Linked DNA regions of Homo sapiens: regions 1, 2, 3, 4, 5 and 7 are each linked to region 6. Evidence: promoter capture Hi-C in 16 types of primary human blood cells and fetal thymus (Javierre and others, 2016). All regions are on one chromosome and are shown on one strand. Each heading gives the region's core, a stretch centred on a gene start or on the middle of the fragment in contact. The rest is flanking DNA. Distances are from core to core; before and after follow the strand shown.

What was found. The method cuts DNA at HindIII sites, captures the fragments that hold promoters and counts their contacts. A CHiCAGO score of 5 or more calls a contact.
Region 1: a contact is called between a fragment that was not itself captured here and the fragment with the promoter of IL3 in region 6, in 4 of 17 cell types (neutrophils, endothelial precursors, erythroblasts and 1 more). The highest score is 8.2, in neutrophils.
Region 2: a fragment that was not itself captured here is called in contact with the fragment with the promoter of IL3 in region 6 in 2 of 17 cell types (erythroblasts and endothelial precursors); the score reaches 6.1 in erythroblasts.
Region 3: a contact is called between a fragment that was not itself captured here and the fragment with the promoter of IL3 in region 6, in 1 of 17 cell types (neutrophils). The highest score is 8.2, in neutrophils.
Region 4: a fragment that was not itself captured here is called in contact with the fragment with the promoter of IL3 in region 6 in 1 of 17 cell types (neutrophils); the score reaches 7.0 in neutrophils.
Region 5: a fragment that was not itself captured here is called in contact with the fragment with the promoter of IL3 in region 6 in 1 of 17 cell types (erythroblasts); the score reaches 6.0 in erythroblasts.
Region 7: a fragment that was not itself captured here is called in contact with the fragment with the promoter of IL3 in region 6 in 2 of 17 cell types (neutrophils and naive B cells); the score reaches 6.5 in neutrophils.

The regions. Positions count from the first base shown.
Region 1 is chr5:131,448,375-131,451,074 of GRCh38, forward strand. The region is part of intron 21 of RAPGEF6 (Rap guanine nucleotide exchange factor 6); the gene reads right to left. Among named protein-coding and RNA genes, the nearest start is that of RAPGEF6, 190 kb to the right of the region's middle. The HindIII fragment of the contact is 1,238 bases long and covers 701-1,938 here.
Region 2 is chr5:131,427,533-131,430,232 of GRCh38, forward strand. RAPGEF6 (Rap guanine nucleotide exchange factor 6) reads right to left here. Exons shown (of 28, transcript NM_016340.6): 27 at 1,370-1,684. Among named protein-coding and RNA genes, the nearest start is that of CDC42SE2, 160 kb to the left of the region's middle. The HindIII fragment of the contact is 1,088 bases long and covers 852-1,939 here.
Region 3 is chr5:131,536,578-131,539,277 of GRCh38, forward strand. The region is part of intron 6 of RAPGEF6 (Rap guanine nucleotide exchange factor 6); the gene reads right to left. Among named protein-coding and RNA genes, the nearest start is that of RAPGEF6, 97 kb to the right of the region's middle. RefSeq lists a silencer at 1-213 and an enhancer at 1-198. The HindIII fragment of the contact is 2,663 bases long and covers 86-2,700 here.
Region 4 is chr5:131,471,128-131,473,827 of GRCh38, forward strand. It overlaps RAPGEF6 (Rap guanine nucleotide exchange factor 6), which reads right to left. Exons shown (of 28, transcript NM_016340.6): 17 at 1,460-1,617. Among named protein-coding and RNA genes, the nearest start is that of RAPGEF6, 160 kb to the right of the region's middle. The HindIII fragment of the contact is 3,156 bases long and covers 1-2,700 here.
Region 5 is chr5:131,497,120-131,499,819 of GRCh38, forward strand. RAPGEF6 (Rap guanine nucleotide exchange factor 6) reads right to left here. Exons shown (of 28, transcript NM_016340.6): 12 at 1,324-1,488. Among named protein-coding and RNA genes, the nearest start is that of RAPGEF6, 140 kb to the right of the region's middle. The HindIII fragment of the contact is 995 bases long and covers 928-1,922 here.
Region 6 is chr5:132,059,242-132,061,941 of GRCh38, forward strand. It overlaps IL3 (interleukin 3), which reads left to right and starts at 1,414. Exons shown (of 5, transcript NM_000588.4): 1 at 1,414-1,627; 2 at 1,726-1,767. The coding sequence starts at 1,466. It overlaps LOC105379174 (a long non-coding RNA gene), which reads right to left. Exons shown (of 5, transcript XR_001742531.2): 2 at 2,230-2,367. The HindIII fragment of the contact is 14,005 bases long and covers 1-2,700 here.
Region 7 is chr5:131,520,047-131,522,746 of GRCh38, forward strand. RAPGEF6 (Rap guanine nucleotide exchange factor 6) reads right to left here. Exons shown (of 28, transcript NM_016340.6): 7 at 1,344-1,475. Among named protein-coding and RNA genes, the nearest start is that of RAPGEF6, 110 kb to the right of the region's middle. The HindIII fragment of the contact is 302 bases long and covers 1,211-1,512 here.

The DNA of each region.
Region 1 (2,700 bases), core at 70-2,569, 610 kb before region 6:
TCCATAGCCAAGTCCATAAGAGCTCCTTCAATAAGCATAAAGTAGAAATTCTCAGTGGTAACAGGATACTGCAGTGATTTTCCTTAGTAGTAGATAAAATAACAATATGTCCAACAATTGACGTTGTCTTGAATTCAAAGAAATGCAGTAAAATCAAGTTGCAGCTATTTAGGAGCAAATTTTAACACAAATATTTAATGATTTTTATCTTAGTTAATATAAAAAAGTAGGTGTTGACAAATCTAGGAGACACAAAATTCTAACAAATAAAAACACTGTGATAAACGTCGATAAAATGTTTTCTAAACTACTTTGAAAACAGAAAATTGCTGATATAAAATAAATATACCTAATGTTTGTAAGCATCATACAGTGTAACCCTAAAGCTGAATGAACGTGAAACATGTTAACATAAGTCATTCAAACACACCCAATGCCCACTAAAAGATATTGTCCAAGTATTCTTCTTTATAATAGTAATGCCAGGTATCAATTTCTATTTTCAGTGAGAAGAGCCAAAAGAGACCAAGACATAAATTTGCGATCCAGAAGAAAACACATGGGAAACACACAGAGAAGGGAGAAAGAAAATAGAAGGAAAGTCAAGTTCACCAAGCATTAACAGAAAATAAGACCACAAATGAGGCAAGACTCGAATAAAGAAGGTGGCTCACAAAAAATTCTTCTTACATGTAATAAAAGCTTCTAACTTCATGGTTCACTACAAGTCTTAAAATAACAAAATTCTTCTTATGCAATCCCTTCATCCACAAAAGTCATCTCTTTCTTCATCTAAAAATGAAAGGACTAGATAGATGATATATAAGATCTTTAACATTCTATGATTCTAAATAGACACTTAGCTATGTAGAAGTAGAGACCTAACTCTATAACAAATAGTGTCAGTTGCTGATTCTATCACAACTTTAAAGATAAGGGAATCTTCAATTAAAGCTGGTAAAAATTTCAAATAAAATTCAGTCAATGCTACAAGTAAGTGGCATTAGTGGGTCTGAGGAAATAAAATCATCTTCTAGTTCAATTTTATAGTACAGCTTGGATAAGGGCTGCCTCTTTTTAGAAAACTGATGGAAAATGCAACCTTCACAAACATCTTTCATTCATTTTTATATATTTATATGATATATTTACTTTTATAAAATGTGGCATTTGAATAAAAGAAAGTGGTGTGAACTCTAGAACTAGACTACCTAGTTTTGGATCCACCATTAATGAACTAAAACTTTAGGCAACTCAACCTTTCCCATCCATACTATGGAAAGAAAAGTATCTCCTTTATAGGGTAGTAGTAGAATTAAGTAAGATAATTCGTTTAGAGTGCTTAGAACAATGTATGGCACATAGCAAGCACACAACAAATATTCACTATCATTATCATCATCTAACTGACCTAGCTAAATCAAAATCTAAAAAGGACTTATAGGGCATCAATAGTGGAAAAATAAAGGAAAAATAGCTAGTTCTATCACTACTTTCACCTTGTTAGCAGAAGGCATTTGTCAGGAATGTAGGCTGACAGGGTTAATAGAATTCATGCTATTTTATGTGCGTGCATTAATGAAAAGGATGCAATATATGTTAAGAGTCGCACAACCTTCATTCCAGTTGCGTTCATCTCTACACTTACCCCAGACTCCGCCACCTCTTCTTCCTGTAAGCAAGAGCCACAAACATTGAAGCATGTGTTTGAATAGGAAAGCACAGAAAAAAGACAACAGTTGAGAGTCAGAGAAACTATGCAGACAGAAAAGAACAGAAACATTTTATCAGGAAAAAATTACAGCTTAACAGTAAAATGACTTTAAATGGAAGGCAGGAGGGTAAGATGAGTATATACTGAAGGTCAAAAAAGCTCCAAAATACTTTATAAAAATATGCTTTAGACCAATTATATTTTAAATACCTAATTCATCAGGAAGCTTATATAAATAAGAAGCTTAAGGAAAAACATTTACTTACTATAATATAAATTTTGAATTCAAAGTTTTTAAGGGAAAAGACCTTAAAGGAATAGAATTTCTGAACATCTTGCTGGCAAGATTTTTGGGCCACTCATTTAAGTGACAGAATGAAATTACAAGGGACATAAAAACATAAAATTTCATTTTTAAGTGCAGAAATTTCTGACAAGATGTCTTGTAAGAAATGTTGACCAGCAAATCCAACTTAAAATGTAAGAAAAAACATATCATTAAAATCTTCATAATACTATATATCTTTACATTCCTGTTTGATTGACTAAAGATTCTATTTTTTAAGTCTGCAAATTGATTACTGTTAAAAGGGGTTACTTTGTCCAAACTAGATACTCATACACCACCAAAATGGACATTGTTTGCTTAAAGAAAGGTATTACATTTTAGCACTGGCTGACAAAACTGATTCAGGAAAAATTCAGTCCAATCTTTAAAAAAGATGTTTTTTATTTTCCCCCAATACCTTATTGTATTCAATCCAGGCCATTCCCAAGAAAACAGCCATGTTTATTAATTTCCTCATCAGTTTTTCTCCTTTGCTCATTACTGAAGTATGGCTAGTACTTAGTATATTATAAACTGGTCTGGCAGGGTCACAAATTCATCATGTCTTCAGGAATCAGGATGTTAACATGTGTAAGTAAATAGAGGTCCACATAAGCCAATAGAGAGTGTTAGGGTCATTGTACAAGGACATACAACA
Region 2 (2,700 bases), core at 146-2,645, 630 kb before region 6:
ATTTTCAATAAAACAATCATTTCTCAAACTATTGGCACAGGTACAAAGTCAGTCAAGACTTTTGCTAATAAAAGGAACTATATCAATAGAATCATTTCAGATAATTTGGCATTTGAAACACAGTTTCAAGTTTCCATGCATTAAGGTAAAATACAATTCCATTAATGTTAAAAGTATCCCATTAGATTGAGCCACTGTTTCATCAAAGATAAGAATATTCCATTTGAGCCACAGGGTACTAGGCACACAGAAATAGGCAGCTTGCCCATTTCATTTAAAAAATACACCATCAGTGCGGGGTACAGTGGCTCACACCCATAACCCCAACTTTGTGGGAGACTGAGGCTGGCAGATTGCTTGAGTCCAGGAGTTCAAGACCAGCCTGGGCAACATGGTAAAATGCTGTCTCAAATACAAAAAATTAGCTGGGTGTGGTGGTGTGTGCCTGTAGTCCCACCTACTTGGGAGGCTGAGGAGGGAGAATTACCTGAGACCAGGAAGTTGAGGCTGCAGTGAGCCACGATCATGCCACTGCACTCCAGCCTGAGTGACACAGCAAGACCTTGTCTCAACAAACAAACAACCCACACCATTGGCTGGGTGTGGTGGCTCACACCTATAATCCCAACACTTTCGGAGGCTGGGGTGGGAGGACTGCTTCAGGCCAGGAGTTCAAAACCAGCCTGGTCAATATAGTGAGACCCTGTCTCTACAAAGGAAAAATTTAACAATGAGCCAGGCATGCTGGTGTGCACCTGTAGTCCCAGCTACTTGGGAGGCTGAGTTGGGAGGACTGCTTGAGCCCAGGAGTCTGAGGCTGTAGTGAGTCATTATTGTGCCACTGCACTCTAAGCTTGGGCAACAGAGTTAGACCCTATCTTGAAAAATAAAACAAAACCAAAACACTCCCCCATACTATATTTAGGAACTTTTTTTTTTTTTTTGGAGACAGAGTTTTGTTCTTGTTGTCCAGGCTGGAGTGCAATGGTGCGATCTTGGCTCACTGCAATCTCTGCCTCCCAGGTTCAAGCAATTCTCCTGCCTCAGCCTCCCGAGTAGCTGGGATTACAGGCATGCGCCATAATGCCTGGCTGATTTTGTATTTTTTTAGTAGAGACGGGGTTTCTCCATGTTGGACAGGCTGGTCAGGAACTCCCGACCTCAGGTGATTCGCCCGCCTCAGCCTCCCAAAGTGCTGGGATTACAGGTGTGAGCCACTGCACCCTGCCGGCAGGAACTTCTTACTTTTTAACAGAGATTCAAGGCATTTAAAGAAACAATTACTAATTACCATAAAATACCAAAGTAAAGACCATTTAATGTGTTCAGCAATTCATTTAAGAGCCTTTAAGAGAGCTTGTCAACATACCATCTGCTTCGCTATCTGCATCAGTCACATCTCCTAGTTTAGGATGGAATGGCTGCAAATTATGCCTCTGAGGCTGAGTTACAATCTTCGATGGAACACAGGCCACGAGGTTGCTACTGAGAGAAGCTGGTGGCAGTCTAGAGAGGCTGTTATGCATCATCTTTGACCTCTGCACTGCCACACTATAATCTGGAGGTTTTAGGTGTGTGTGGGGTCCTTCCTTTAGGTCCGCTAAAGAAATCCCCAAATATCCTGGAGGAGTGGGAGGTGGCTCCCTATACCTATCGTCCTTCTTGGGTGAGGTGACACAGTACACTGGCATGAAAAATAAGCAATGAAAATGTTAATGAAAAAGAAATGGAAAAAAAAAGAAACCACCCCACAAACTTATTACAATGACAAAATACAACTTAAAAATAGACAAAATGAATAAACTTGAATGATGGCAGATCAAAAACATTTTTTAAAAGTTTAATAAACAAACCTCTTTTTAAAATACATAAACAACTATATTAAGTCCTGTAAACATTAAATAGAACGAGAGAGTTGAAGGAGATGACACTGATGACAAGCTTCCTTCTGCAATTCAGCCCCCATATCACAGAAGTACATGACAACTCCTGAAGTCACACCAGCCCTAAAGATATCAGAAACATTTAAAAGTTCACCCTACACACCGATTCTCTGTAAACTGGGAGACTTTACATAGAAATGACATTTGGGCCATCTGTTTAAGGGCTGTTTCACCTTCTCTCTGAGACATGAACCAATGTTTTCTGGCACTCCTGGGCAGATTAGTTCTCAGTCCTAGCATATAAACTTTAACTTTGCTGGTACGGAGGAACTAATTCCTTCAAGAACTTTACTTCTGGCCAGGTGCGGTGGTTCACGCCTGTAATCCCAGCACTTTGGAGGCCGAAGTGGGTGGATCACCTGAGGTGAGAAGTTTGAGACCAGCCTGGCCAACATGAAGCCCCATCTCTACTAAAAATAAAAAAATTAGCTGGGCATGGTGGCAGGCACCTGTAATCCCAGCTACTTGGGAGGCTGAGAGAGGAGAATTGCTTGAACCTGGCAGGCGAAGGTTGCAGTGAGCCGAGGTCATGCCACTGCACTCCAGCCTGGGCAATACAGCAAGAGTCCATCTCAAAAAAAAAAAAAAAAGTTGGAAAAAAATGAATGAGCTAAAAACCCAACCTATAATGCAATTTGACAAGTAACTATAAAATCAGCACATTTCACCTTCACATTTTTAGTAGTTAAATGCGACACCATGACTGTTGCATAAATTTAACAGTTGATTATGATATTAATTCAAAGTAGAGTCATTC
Region 3 (2,700 bases), core at 167-2,666, 520 kb before region 6:
GAAATATGATCCACCCTTAGGGAGTAATAGAGGAAGAAAAACCAAGAAGGAGAGAGAAACCGTCATCATCAACCAAGGTGATGTAAGCTTCTATAATTAGAATCAGTGAAATTGAAAGAACAATAAAAGGCACCACTATGCTTCTGCTTTCCGTCTACACTGCGTATCAAGCATCTTCATACCTGCACAAAAGGATACATTTTGTATATAGTTACTCAAGTATATGCAAACCTAAAGTTTCAAACAGCGTATTAATTTTCTTCAAAAAGAGAGTAACATATATAAATGATAAAAAATGAACTCTCATTTAAAACTATCTGTGAATTCCTGGGTTCCTTTATATCCCTTGTTCATAAAGATGACCATTACGTCCCTTCTCTACTTTTAAATACTACATTTTCTAGCACTGTAAAAGCCACATACACAAGATAGCACACTTAATAAACACATACCAAATCAAACTAAAAGGTAATAACGTTAGGTCAGCATTAATTTGTTTGCTATGTCTGAGTAGTTGTTATTCCCCTTCCAACTGGAACACTGTCATAATCAGTCTTAGACCACTGGTATACATTAGTATCTGAGTTGCTTTAAACAATTATCAAAAGCTCCTTCTTTAGCAATTACTCCATAAAATATTTCAAGTATGATAAAAAGTCTTCCTAATTCTGGTTCCCTGGGCAAATCTGTCTGAATTAGTGTCACACCATTAAGGGAGGAAGAACTGCCCCAGACAACCAGAGGGGCATGCCCTGCTCTGGTCCTCTCAGTACTCAAGCATTTTATACATAGTGAATAATAAAGACAATTTTAAAATGCCTATTGAGAAGTTACCAATATTCATGTAGAAACTTAAAATAATTTTCATACCTTTAACCCAGTAATTTCTGTAACTCAATCCTAAGGAAATAATCAGTCATGTACAGATTTTTCCCTAAAAGTTGTTTGTAATAGGAGAAAAATTGGAAGCCACGTGAGAATACTTCGTTACACTCATACAGCATTATATTAATATTGAAAGTAATGTTTTGGAAAAAATTTAACTGCATGAGAAACACAAACACAAGGATACATAACTAAACATTCAGCATCATCTAAATTAATTAAAATATTTAAATTAATCAAAAGATATATACAGTCAGCCCTCTGTGTCCATGGGTTCTGTACCTGCAGATTGAAGAAACTGCAGACAGAAAATATTTTGGGAAAATCCCATTAAAAATAACAGTAGAGGCTGGGGGTGGTGGTGATTACATCTGTAATCCCAACAGTTTGGGAGGCCGAGGCAGGCTATTGCTGGAGCCCACGAGTTCAAGACCAACCTGAAAAACATGATGAAACTCCGTCTCTACAAAAAAAAACAAAGTTAGCTGGGTGTGGAGGCATGTGCCTATAATCCCAGCTACTCAGGAGGCTGAGGTGAGAGGATCCCTTGAGTTGGGAGGTCAAAGCTGCAATGAGCTGTGATCATTCCACTGCATTCTAGTCTAGTTGACAGCGAGACCGTCTCAAATAAAACCTAAAAAACCAAAAACAAAAAACCACTACAACAATAAAAAAAACTACAAATTTCAGTATAGCAACTATCTACACTGCATTTACACTGTATTAGGTATTATAAGTAATCTAGAAATGATTCAAAATACAGTCATGCATTGCTTAACAACTGGGGTACATTCTGAGGAATGTGTCATTAGGCAATTTCATCCTTGGGCAAACATCACTGAGTGTAGCTACAGAAACCTAGACGGTATAGCCTACTATACACCTAGGCTACATGGTACAGCCTATGGTTCCCAGGCTATGAACCTGCTCAGCATGTTACTCTACTGAATAATGCAGGCAACTGTAACACAATGGTAAGTATTTGTGTATCTAAACACAGAAAACGTACAGTAAAAACAGGCAGCAAAATCTGATGTCATTTATGTGGTCTGTCATTACGCAACACATGACTGTATATGGAAGGATGTGCATAGATTACACAAAAATACTACACCATTTTATAAAAGGGACTCGAACATCCTCGAATTTTAGTATCTGCAGGGGGTCCTGAAACCAAGCCCCCATGGATACTGAGGGACCATGGTACATTAAAAAAATTTTAAGTGACAGTAGCTATCTCCAGTTTTGAGGATGACAGCAAATTCATTTCCTTCTTCATACTCTTCTATATATTTTACATTTCTACAATAAGCATTTCTTCACAAAATTAAAACAAAATCTGCTCTAACTTGGCATTTGTCCTAGTTTTAGTTGTATCACTTCTATGCTTTTTGTCTATTTGTGGACTCAATACCTTCTAACTAGGTACAAAAACCTATCAAGAATTCCATATTATTTCCTAGAAGATAAAGGAGGAGTATTCTCCTAAAGGATGTTAGATACTCGTAAACAAAAACAGAAAGTCTTCTTTTGTTTTTAAGGTAGAAAGAATCACAAAGAATATACACCTGTTCAGAGTATTTGGGGCTGTAAATAAAGAGAGAAGAGAAGCAATATTGAAAAGCTGAAGATTCTTAGAGGTGGGGATCCAAACTTCTCAGTAGTAGTGTGATCAGCATTCACTGTCTTATATACAAATAAGATTATCAAAGATCCCATTTGCAAACTTCCTGAGTTTAGAAGTAACAAAAGTCTGTTTATTCATTCATTATTTCATTCTGAAAGTACTTATGAAATACCATATTAAAAACAATC
Region 4 (2,700 bases), core at 6-2,505, 590 kb before region 6:
AATAACTGGAGTGTCTTCTGTCTCATGAATGACATTTCACTAATATAAAAATCACTACAAATGTCTTAGGAAAGTAATGACTCATTAAATCTTTGTTCTAAAAAGAACACTGGTAGCCATGTAGAGAGTGTGATGTGCCAGAACAGGTTACTGGGTTTAATAATCGCTCTAGTGGTTAAGTGGCAACTGAAATATAAAGGAAGAAACCATGTGCAGAATGACCTTCACTAAACTGTTATTAGGTTATGTCCTGAGGTTTTTATTTAAGTTGCTATAATAAAACATGAACTTTACTACTGTACTTATATTTCCTTCTAATACCGAGATGGAACTAAGTTTCCTCCCTTTCTACACTAGCTGCTAGGAACTTTAGAGTCAAAATTGAAGGTGAATCAGAACTATGCTTATCTTTGTAGAAGCATTTTTTCTCCCACCTTTCCTTGGACCCAATTATATGTTTCAGTGCTTAATTGTATATGCCTTTTATTGAAAACCATCTCAAATCCGTTAAGTGATGGATATATAATTATTCAAAGTCGAAAGTTTTCTTCTTTGTAACAAAACTTTAGATTATATAACTGTGACAATTTTTGCCTCAAGACATGAATAGACGCAAAAAAAAAATAACTTGACATCCCACACTGGAAGTCCAAACAACAATGAAAATTATGCTATAACGCTCTGATAACAATACATGACAAATACAACTTCAGCTTCAAGTGTCTGAGGAAAAATCTGCTTTTACAAAATTACTAACACTTTTCTGTGTATTATAGAAAAAGGTAAGTGAGGCCACTTAGATTAAAATAATCTCCCTTATTCTTTTCCACACCCTGGGTAAGATATATCTTGCCTGAGAAGTGTCTCTGTTTTCATTCTACTGCTTAGATTAGGATTACTAAAAGATACCTAATTCTGTGGTTAGAGGTAGTCTCTTTTTTCTTTTCTTTTTTTTTTTTTTTGAGACGGAGTCTTGCTCTGTCGCCCAGGCTGGAGTGCAGTGGTCCGATCTCGGCTCACTGCAAGCTCTGCCTCCCGGGTTCACGCCATTCTCCTGCCTCAGCCTCCCAAGTAGCTGGGACTACAGGCACCCACCATCACGTCTGGCTAATTTTTTGTATTTTTAGTAGAGATGGTGTTTCACCATGTTAGCCAGGATGGTCTCAATCTCCTGACCTCATGATCCGCCCGCCTCGGCCTCCCAAAGTGCTGGGATTACAGGCGTGAGCCACTGCGCCTGGCCAGAGGTAGTCTCTTTTTTATGTACTTCTGTTTCACTTTAGAGGAAGTACCATTCAAATTAACAGAACAAGTCAATCTCCCTTTAGTTTTTTGCATCAAGTCATAATCTAGAGTTAAGAGGGCTGCAAGTAACTCTAGCACTTGCTGCACAAGGCTTAACCATCTATTTGTTCATTTGGTACCAATACGGCAATATAAAATCACATATGAAAATTACCTGAAGGATTGGAAAAATCCAACATACTGGTGGTAGGCTGCAGGAGATCAGGGCTGCTGGATGAGAGTGTTCCAGGGATGGGCATTATAGCCAGACTATGCCTACAGTGCCTTGTTCCCACAATGCTGTCATCTTGTGATTGGCTTAGGCCTCCATCACTTCAAAAGAATGTCATATATCACTTTAAAGTATTTGAGAGTACTTAAGTAGTAAACGTTTCTGTTCCCTGTGCACTAAGGCATAAAAGAACCAATTCAAAGAGGTGATTTAAACAACTGAAATACTACAGCAATTTTTAAAAGACAATTGTAATGATGAAAATGGCACTAAAATTTTTAACAATTACATTAAAATAAAATCTAACTTATACATCTAAGTAATTCTACTACATCCTAATTAAATTGTCTTATTTAGTGTCTACCAGTTTGGGTGAAGAAACTGAACCTGAGTATTTAGGGAACCCTTCAAATTTGCCAGTTTTAGTGGACACTAATACATGTATCCAAATATGCACAGCCACACCATAGCAAGGTGTTCTCTTTCTCTTTCCCTTTCTCCAGAAAATCTTGGTGATCCTCTAGGAAAAAGAGTCTACATTCAAACCAAAAACTATGGCAGGTAATAGATAACAATGGGGCCAAGGTCAAGTGACAAAGTAAGAGTGGTCTTTAAACACTGGACCAGAAAAAAAATAGAATTATGAAAATTACAGTCTCTAAAGTTCATTCTAAGGGTACATTATTTCTTATTTAATCTCTCAAGTCTAATTATTTAAGCAAACAAAATATTCTTCCTTTAAAATATTTTAGAAATGTGACATAGGCAACTTCTAAATCCACCTAGAGAAAAAATAAAAACAAAGAAACAAACACTGTCACTTAGGTTTTAGATACCCCCAAATTTTAGCTTACTTTTAAGCAAAACAGTCCTATAAAAACATAAGATAGCAGTGAAAAAAATTTCCATCAACATCAATAACCAAAAACTACTTCTAAGGGTTGTACTTACATTAAAACCAATGCTCTGTTACTATTAATTCTTGTCTATATTTTATCAAATGCAGCATTCTGCCTAGTACTTGCTATACATACCAACAGAAGTATCACAGAATACTTACCTATTATCATGAAAAAGATTAAAGTATAGTATTATAAATGAATAATATGAAATACATTTAAATTACACTAGATGTAAAATATAGGATTTTACGTAGATTAGAAAACTATGCAAGATGGAGAGTT
Region 5 (2,700 bases), core at 175-2,674, 560 kb before region 6:
ATTAATGATGCTGAACATCTTTGTCATGTGCCTGTTGGCCATTTACATATCTTCTTTGGAGAAATGTCTATACAAGTCCTTGGTCCATGTTTAAACTGTGCTGTCTTTTCGTTGTTGAGTTGTAAAAGTTCTTTATGTATTTTGGATATTAAACCTTTATCAGATATATAATTTTCTCTTATTCTGTGCATTGTCTTAACTTTCTGGACAGTGTCCTTTGATGCAAAAATAATTTTAATTTTGATGAGGTCCAATTATCTCTTTTTTCTTTTGTTGCTTGTGCTTGGGTATCATATTTTCATATTTGAGAAACCAACGCCAAATCCAAGGCCATGATAATCTACCCCTATCTTTAAGGCATTATAGTTTTAGCTCTTCTGTCTCTGACCCATTTTGGGTACATTTTTGTTTATAGTATAAGGTGGTAATCCATTTTCATTCTTTTGCATATGGATAATTATCACTAAATCATATTCTTGTTCATTTCCAAAGCATGCCTTTATTTTCTTGGCAACCAAGGTAAATATATTTAATTCTAAGAAAAAGGGTGAGAGGTGTGCAAGCCTGTAGTTTTAGATGTTAGTCTCCTAAATAAAAGAATTCTGCAGTTTACCTGCAACTAGTTTATTTCCTTTAAAATATAACTCAAAAAGACACACCAGACAATTATGATCCTACTTTTATTTTCTTGAAACAACTTATTTCTTACCAATTTGTGGAAGTATTACTAGTCTTTCCATTAAATGTGCAAACATATCCCATGAAATAAGCTAATTTATTTAAAATAGTGAACAACATTTAATACAAAAAAATACTCAAAAGGTAGATTTAAATAAGTCACAGGAGAGACATATTAAGGTTTGATAAATTGTTTTCAAATGATTGTGAAGTCTGTAACTCAAGAAAATAAAAATATTCCCATTTTGAAGCTTAAAAGCAATCTGCCCTCTTAAAAAAATGTATTTGATGAATATTCTTTCTAAAATATTAAATCCGTTTTAAAATGTTTTATTGATCTCCAGAAACAATCAAGTATTTCAGTAAAATTCTAAAATACTCTCATGTAACTATTATGTTTCCTGAACCTATAGCTATACCAGAGCTTTATTTCAGTTTTTGCCTTTTAAGGCTCTCGTCCACTTTTAGCATGCTATTCTGTCATAAAAGTAAGCAGAGAATGTTTATACTGATGGTTCAGGTTCATTAATTTTTTTAGGTGTACTGAATCTTATTATCATAATAAACAGGTAATCTATCAACTATAAAAGTTTCATGAATAAAATTTTGGGTTAAAATCACTTTCATGCCCCTTATAAAACCAACCTTATCTCTTAAGCTGTCGATCTTAAACCATTCCAATAGTTTGATCCCAACATCCAAAGGACTTTCAAGAAATGTCCTGTAAGTTAATAGAAAATCTTCTATATAAGTTGGATCCACGATGGAATGTTCTTCTATTAAATGCATTATGAGACGCTCAGGTGTTGCCTAAAAATCCAAGGATAGGAAGGATTAGAAAATAAACAAATGACCCAAGAACCAAAGAACTATTGTTGATTACTCCGCTTTGTAGCTACTCCATTAGACAAATCGTCAAAGTACAGTTTCGCCTTTAAATCCTTAGCGCTGGGAGAATTGGAATGCAAACTTAATTGTAATCCACCAGCACCCAGAGGTTGAGAGACAGAAAAGGCAGAGAAATAAATAGCCAACAGCACTCACTCAGCTGAAGCTGTTTTCACTGGCATTTCATCATAGCAGGACCTTTGAACTTCACTAACTTAGCCCTGGTGTGGGCTGTTACTGCCACTTCTCCTACAACCAGGGCATGTATTTATTGTCTCAAGGCAACAAAAGAGGTGAAAGTTAAACTAAAGAAAGAAAGAAAAAGAAAGGAATGAAAGGGAAGAAAGAAAAAAGAAAGCTTTTCTCCAAATTTAATCCACCTCAAAAATCTTTTCTGACCAGGCTGTAGGAAGAACACACCAGTTCAAGAGAGCCTGTTTCATTATTGTTACTTCCCAGAATAAATATTTCCTTTTCTACAGTTCCTCTCATACAGTTTCCTCTCCATGCTAGGTCACCATATTGAGAGGAACCAGAAGTTCTACAGACAGTTTTGAAATTAATTCAGAGTTTTAAATGCTTGTTTCCAACTTTATAAAAGAATATAAACAGGCTGGGCGTGGTGTGGCTCATGCCTGTAATCCCAGCACTTTGGGAGGCCAAGGAGAGCAGAACACCTGAGGTCCACAGTTCAAGACCAGCCTGGCCAACATGGTGAAACCCCGTCTCTACTAAAAATACAAAAATTGGCTGGGTGTGGTGGCCGGCGCCTATAATCCCAGCTACTCAGGAGGGTGAGGCAGCAGAATTGCTTGAACCCGGGAGGTGGAGGTTGCAGAGAGCGGAGATCATGCCACTGCACTCCAGCTGGGGCGACAAGAGCGAGACTTTGTCTCAAAAAAAAAAAAAAAAAAAAAAGAATATAAACAAAAATTTCCATACTGCTCTTCTTTGAGCTTCTGAACCAATGTTTATTACCCTTTGTAGCTTTTTCAAAGGTTGGTACAAGAACAAATACAGAAACAAACAAGATGTTAAGCCTGATATAAAAACTGTTATCCATAACACCCAACCTTCAATTTGTTGCAGTCATCCAAACAATTTCATTGTTTAGAATAACTGTGTGGTAAACAT
Region 6 (2,700 bases), core at 164-2,663:
CCACATCCTGGTCCTTGTCTTCACCTGATCTGCTTATGCTCAGAAGCCCAAAGCACCCAAATTCCGCTGCCTCAGCATAACCTCCTATCCCGCATCCCCCACACTGATCACAACACACCGCACCATGACCCAGACCCTGGCCTTTCCTTACTGCTCTCCTCTCCCTCCCACCCGGGGCCAGTCATCTTGAAGAAGTCTTCCACATGCCCCTGTCACACTCATCCCTTTACCAAAAGCCCCTACCCCATGGGGTGGGTCAGGCAGGCCCCAAGACAGGCCCGTATCAGGAGGACCCCTCTTCTCTCAGGGGCTGCCCTCTGGGATAACCACCCCCGCCCTTCTGGGTTTCCTGCTTCCTATCTGGCTGCAGTTTCTCAGGTCCCTTGTGGATTTCCCCATGGTCTGTCCCCACTCACATCCCCTCTCTGCAAACCTTGCCTACTGGGCCTGCACCTGGCAAATCCATGCTCAGCACAGACGGGGATCAAGACCTCTCAATACAACTGTCTCCTGCCAATCCCTGCCCCAGCAGCCTGAGGCCCAGTCTGAAACCAGGGAGTTGCTCTCCTTTCTCCTCCCTTGACCTCACCCCTCAGACCATGCCAATTCTGCCTCCTAAACCTCCCAGGCCAGCCCCTCCCCCAGCTCCCAGTGACAGTGTCCTCAGGTACCTGAGCTCAGCTCTCGGTGCTACCAGAGGGACTGCCAGGGGCTGCAGCCGGGCCTCCTGCAGAGGCTGAGTCCCACACGCAGGGAACAGCCATGCCACTGCTAGCAGACCAGTAAGAGAATGGCCACCTGGGGCCTGAGCGCCCTCGGCCATCCACCAGAAACAAAGTGTCAAGGAGAAGCTGCCCGAAGCCCATGGGACAAACCACTGGGGACTGGAACACCAGTAATTCTGTATTGGGAAGCGGCACCAAGAGATGTGCTTCTCAGAGCCTGAGGCTGAACGTGGATGTTTAGCAGCGTGACCGGCTACCAGACAAACTCTCATCTGTTCCAGTGGCCTCCTGGCCACCCACCAGGACCAAGCAGGGCGGGCAGCAGAGGGCCAGGGTAGTCCAGGTGATGGCAGATGAGATCCCACTGGGCAGGAGGCCTCAGTGAGCTGAGTCAGGCTTCCCCTTCCTGCCACAGGGGTCCTCTCACCTGCTGCCATGCTTCCCATCTCTCATCCTCCTTGACAAGATGAAGTGATACCGTTTAAGTAATCTTTTTTCTTGTTTCACTGATCTTGAGTACTAGAAAGTCATGGATGAATAATTACGTCTGTGGTTTTCTATGGAGGTTCCATGTCAGATAAAGATCCTTCCGACGCCTGCCCCACACCACCACCTCCCCCCGCCTTGCCCGGGGTTGTGGGCACCTTGCTGCTGCACATATAAGGCGGGAGGCTGTTGCCAACTCTTCAGAGCCCCACGAAGGACCAGAACAAGACAGAGTGCCTCCTGCCGATCCAAACATGAGCCGCCTGCCCGTCCTGCTCCTGCTCCAACTCCTGGTCCGCCCCGGACTCCAAGCTCCCATGACCCAGACAACGCCCTTGAAGACAAGCTGGGTTAACTGCTCTAACATGATCGATGAAATTATAACACACTTAAAGCAGCCACCTTTGCCTTTGCTGGTGAGTAGCTTGGATAAGACTGGCCTGCAGCAGTGAGGGGTGGTGGCTGCCTAAGGCCAAAAGGCCTCATGGGCCTTTCTCTCCCTTCACCCCCACAGGACTTCAACAACCTCAATGGGGAAGACCAAGACATTCTGATGGTAAGAGCTCAGCCCGTGGATCCCGATCCACTTCCTGCCTGGGTGACTTCAGCCATGTCATTCCATCTTACCTAGCCTTGCTTTCTTCATCTGTAAAATAGGGTTAATAGCACCTATCTCAGTGGGATTGTTATGACAATCAAATGGCACAATGTGCATGTTCTGGCCCAGCATCTGGCACTTAAGAGTTCAATACATGGCCACAGCCATGGCTATAATAATGAAAATGACTTTTAAATTAGAAAATGAAAAGGCAGTTCTAGGTGAGGAATACCAAGGGCCTTAAGGTCAGTGTTTGGTAGGGCAGACTCTGGACTGACAGACAGAAATTTCCCCCTCAGATGTGCCAGCTTCTTTTTCCCTTAAAAAATTGAGTTTGTGTTTTCCACCCTCATTGGCTGTGGCATTATCATTTACAGTTATTTTTCATGGTTCCAGTTGGTTGCAGTTGTTCTGTCTCACCTTTGCATGACATTTCTTGGGTCAAACAAGAAGTGGAAGCCTTTGCTGAGTTCCTGGGCCATCTGTGTTTGGGGCACTCACAGCTCACATGCTGCACCCATTTCCATGCTGGGGTCTCTGTGATTTTCTTCTTGATTTCTAGGAGACTTTAATTCAGTCAGGGCATGAACACTGTTATCAGCCTCTGAGCTACAAATACTTCCCTTGGAAAACCCCCTGTCTTTTGTAGAGCTTCTTTTTGGAGATATTTTTTCCCCCAAGTGCAGAAAGATCCACCTAGGTACCCCCTCCCCACCCATTTTTTTTTTTTTTTTTGAGACAAGAGTCTCACTCTGTTGCCCAGGCTGGAGTGCAGTGGCACGATCTCAGCTCACTGCTACCTCTGCCTCCTGAGTTCAAGCAATTCTCCTGTCTCAGCCTCCCAAGTAGCTAGGATTACAGGCATGCACCACCACTCCCATTTTTGTATTT
Region 7 (2,700 bases), core at 112-2,611, 540 kb before region 6:
CACAGCAATTACCTTTGTTGAGAAAAGCCACATATAAACCAAAAAATGGGTATTGTCTTTGTTCCATTTTGCATCTGCCTACAAACTTCCCTGAATAGAAGAAGGCTATTTTCCTAAAATATCTCAATCTGGGTAACTTTGTAGAACCAGTCTAAAATGCTTTCCTCAGACAATGATACTATTTCTACAATTCTTAGTATATGGTAGCCACTAGCCGTATGTGGTTATTAGGCACTTAAAACATGGCTAGTCCAAATTGAGATGTGCTGTAACTTTAAATTAAACTCTGTTTTTTGATGACTTAATATGCAAAAGTAATGTAAGGTAACTCATGCATAATGTTAAAACATTAAATACATGTTGTAATTATAGTATTTGGTTATACTGCACTAAATAAAATATATTACTAAAATGAATTTTACCTGTTTCCTTTTATATTTTTTAATGTGGCTACTAGAAAATTTAAAATTAAATACGTGGCTCACATTAAATTTCTATTTGACAGTTCTGAAATAGGTAATATATTTGAATTCCTTAACAAACCAACCCTCAATATCATGCATCCTCTTGTTATTTTATTTAAACTGTTTTATGTTCTATACTCATGATCTCTGACAAAATCAACCACTGGGCTCCACACCCAGGGAACTGCTCCTTACAACTTGCATTAAAGAAGACATCATAGAAGTTCCACTATCTGGATCCTGAAATACTTATTACCCTGGCTTGAACCTAACTTGGGTTCAATCTCAGCAGGATCATGTGAGGATTCTCTCAGTTTATGGGTCTTCCTAGAACCTTCTCCCCAATATTACAATGATCACTGAAAAGCTCAGTAGGTTTGAAATTGTTCCTCTTGGGTTTTAGAAAATGGAAAAGTCCATCAATATTCTCACTAATTTGCTATTTAATTCACGCTAGACTACAACAGAGGCTTTATGGTAGAAAAGCAGCTCTAATTTTCTTCATGACTTCTAACTACAGAAGACATATACAGTCAATTATAACAAAAATCAGCCTTTTTATAAGTTTAAGTTCAGTTATTCCAAGAACTAATTTTTTAACCAAAACAAGCATTAGATATTAATATGGATTCACCTGGATAAATGAAAGAGAACACTAGATTCATACTCTGCTGAACCATACTTAATCATTCTCAAAAGACAGATCACGTCTTTAATCATGCTTACAAATTTGACACAGTATATAAAGCTTATTTTTCTAAAGACCTTACGCTTGAATTTCATACTCTAAAAGATATGTTAACCATCTAAGGCACAATCACAGAATATCTGGCAAATAAAAAAACCATATACGCAGCATACAAATTCCTAAGGTATTACCTGATAGATATCAGATAAACTGCTGCTTCCAGAGTCACTGGCAATGCTACAACCAGACTGACTAGAAGACACATGAGTCACCTGTGGATGAGGGTTTTCTGTGAGATGCATCTTGGTAAGATCAGCTGGAAGCTGAAAAAAAAAATAATTTAAGTTATTCTAAATGTCAAGCTTTACCTTTTTAAGCGGTTTCGACATGTTCAACAAATTTTTATGTACATTACTGTGCAATCTCTTTTTTAACCCAAGTTCTCTACTTTCAGCAAAAAGATCTTTTGAAATAAGAACCATATGGTACTCTCTGAAACTATTAGACAATCCTACAATGGTAAGCTCACTGAACAGTTTTCAAAAGCCATTACTAATGATATTTCAGAGGAAAAACTTGGCCCTTCTATCCTCCCAAATAAAAATATCAGACCTGTCCATTTAAGGGTAGGAATGTTACCCTACACACACACACACACACACACACACACACACACACACACACACACACACACTCTCTCTCTCTCTCACACACACACTCACTCTCCCTCCCTCCCTCCTAATAAAAAATGGTGACTGATACAAGAATAAAACAGCAATATCTTGGAATCAAGTTCAGCTACTGGCAGCAAGACTTAAGACCAGTAACAAGTTGATTACATTAAATATTCCAAAAATTCTGTGAGCATCTTTACACTTAATATTGAATTAGCTTCTAGTTGGCCCCTGAGAGATTTCTTAGTAATCAACATGATTTAATGAATGTCTGTACTAGGCACAGGTATACAAGAAACACAAAAAGTAAATGACTCCACCACCTCATCTTTAATATGGTCGCATTCTTACCAGGTATGCAGGCTGTACAATATATTTCATGCCGTAAAAGAGACATCTCACAAAATACAAGCTACAGAAATTAAGACAATAAACAAACCACTGCATTCCAGAGTAGTAAAAGTTTTGCATAAGAAGTATGCTAATTTATTTTCCAAATGATTTCTCTGCAACTTGCTATTCAGGGCTATCAAAATCAATTTAATTTTTAAAATAGGGTTCCTCATTGCTTTACTAATGAAAAACATTAAAGAAACACACACATAGTGTATATTAAATGTATTCTGAGGGAATGACTGAGTCTGAATTATGTTATCTCAAGAGGAGTTAATGTAATTATAAAAATTACACATAAAGTACATCACGAACTTCCCCTGCTGATAATGGTATGTTAGATAATTCAGACGAATCCTAGTACTAAGACAAACAGAAAACCTGAAGTACATACATACATACACACACACACAGTATCTGGCCTCTGACGTTACTTTTTCTCCTAAGAATATTTTCTGATTCCTAAAGAAAAGGCTAAAAG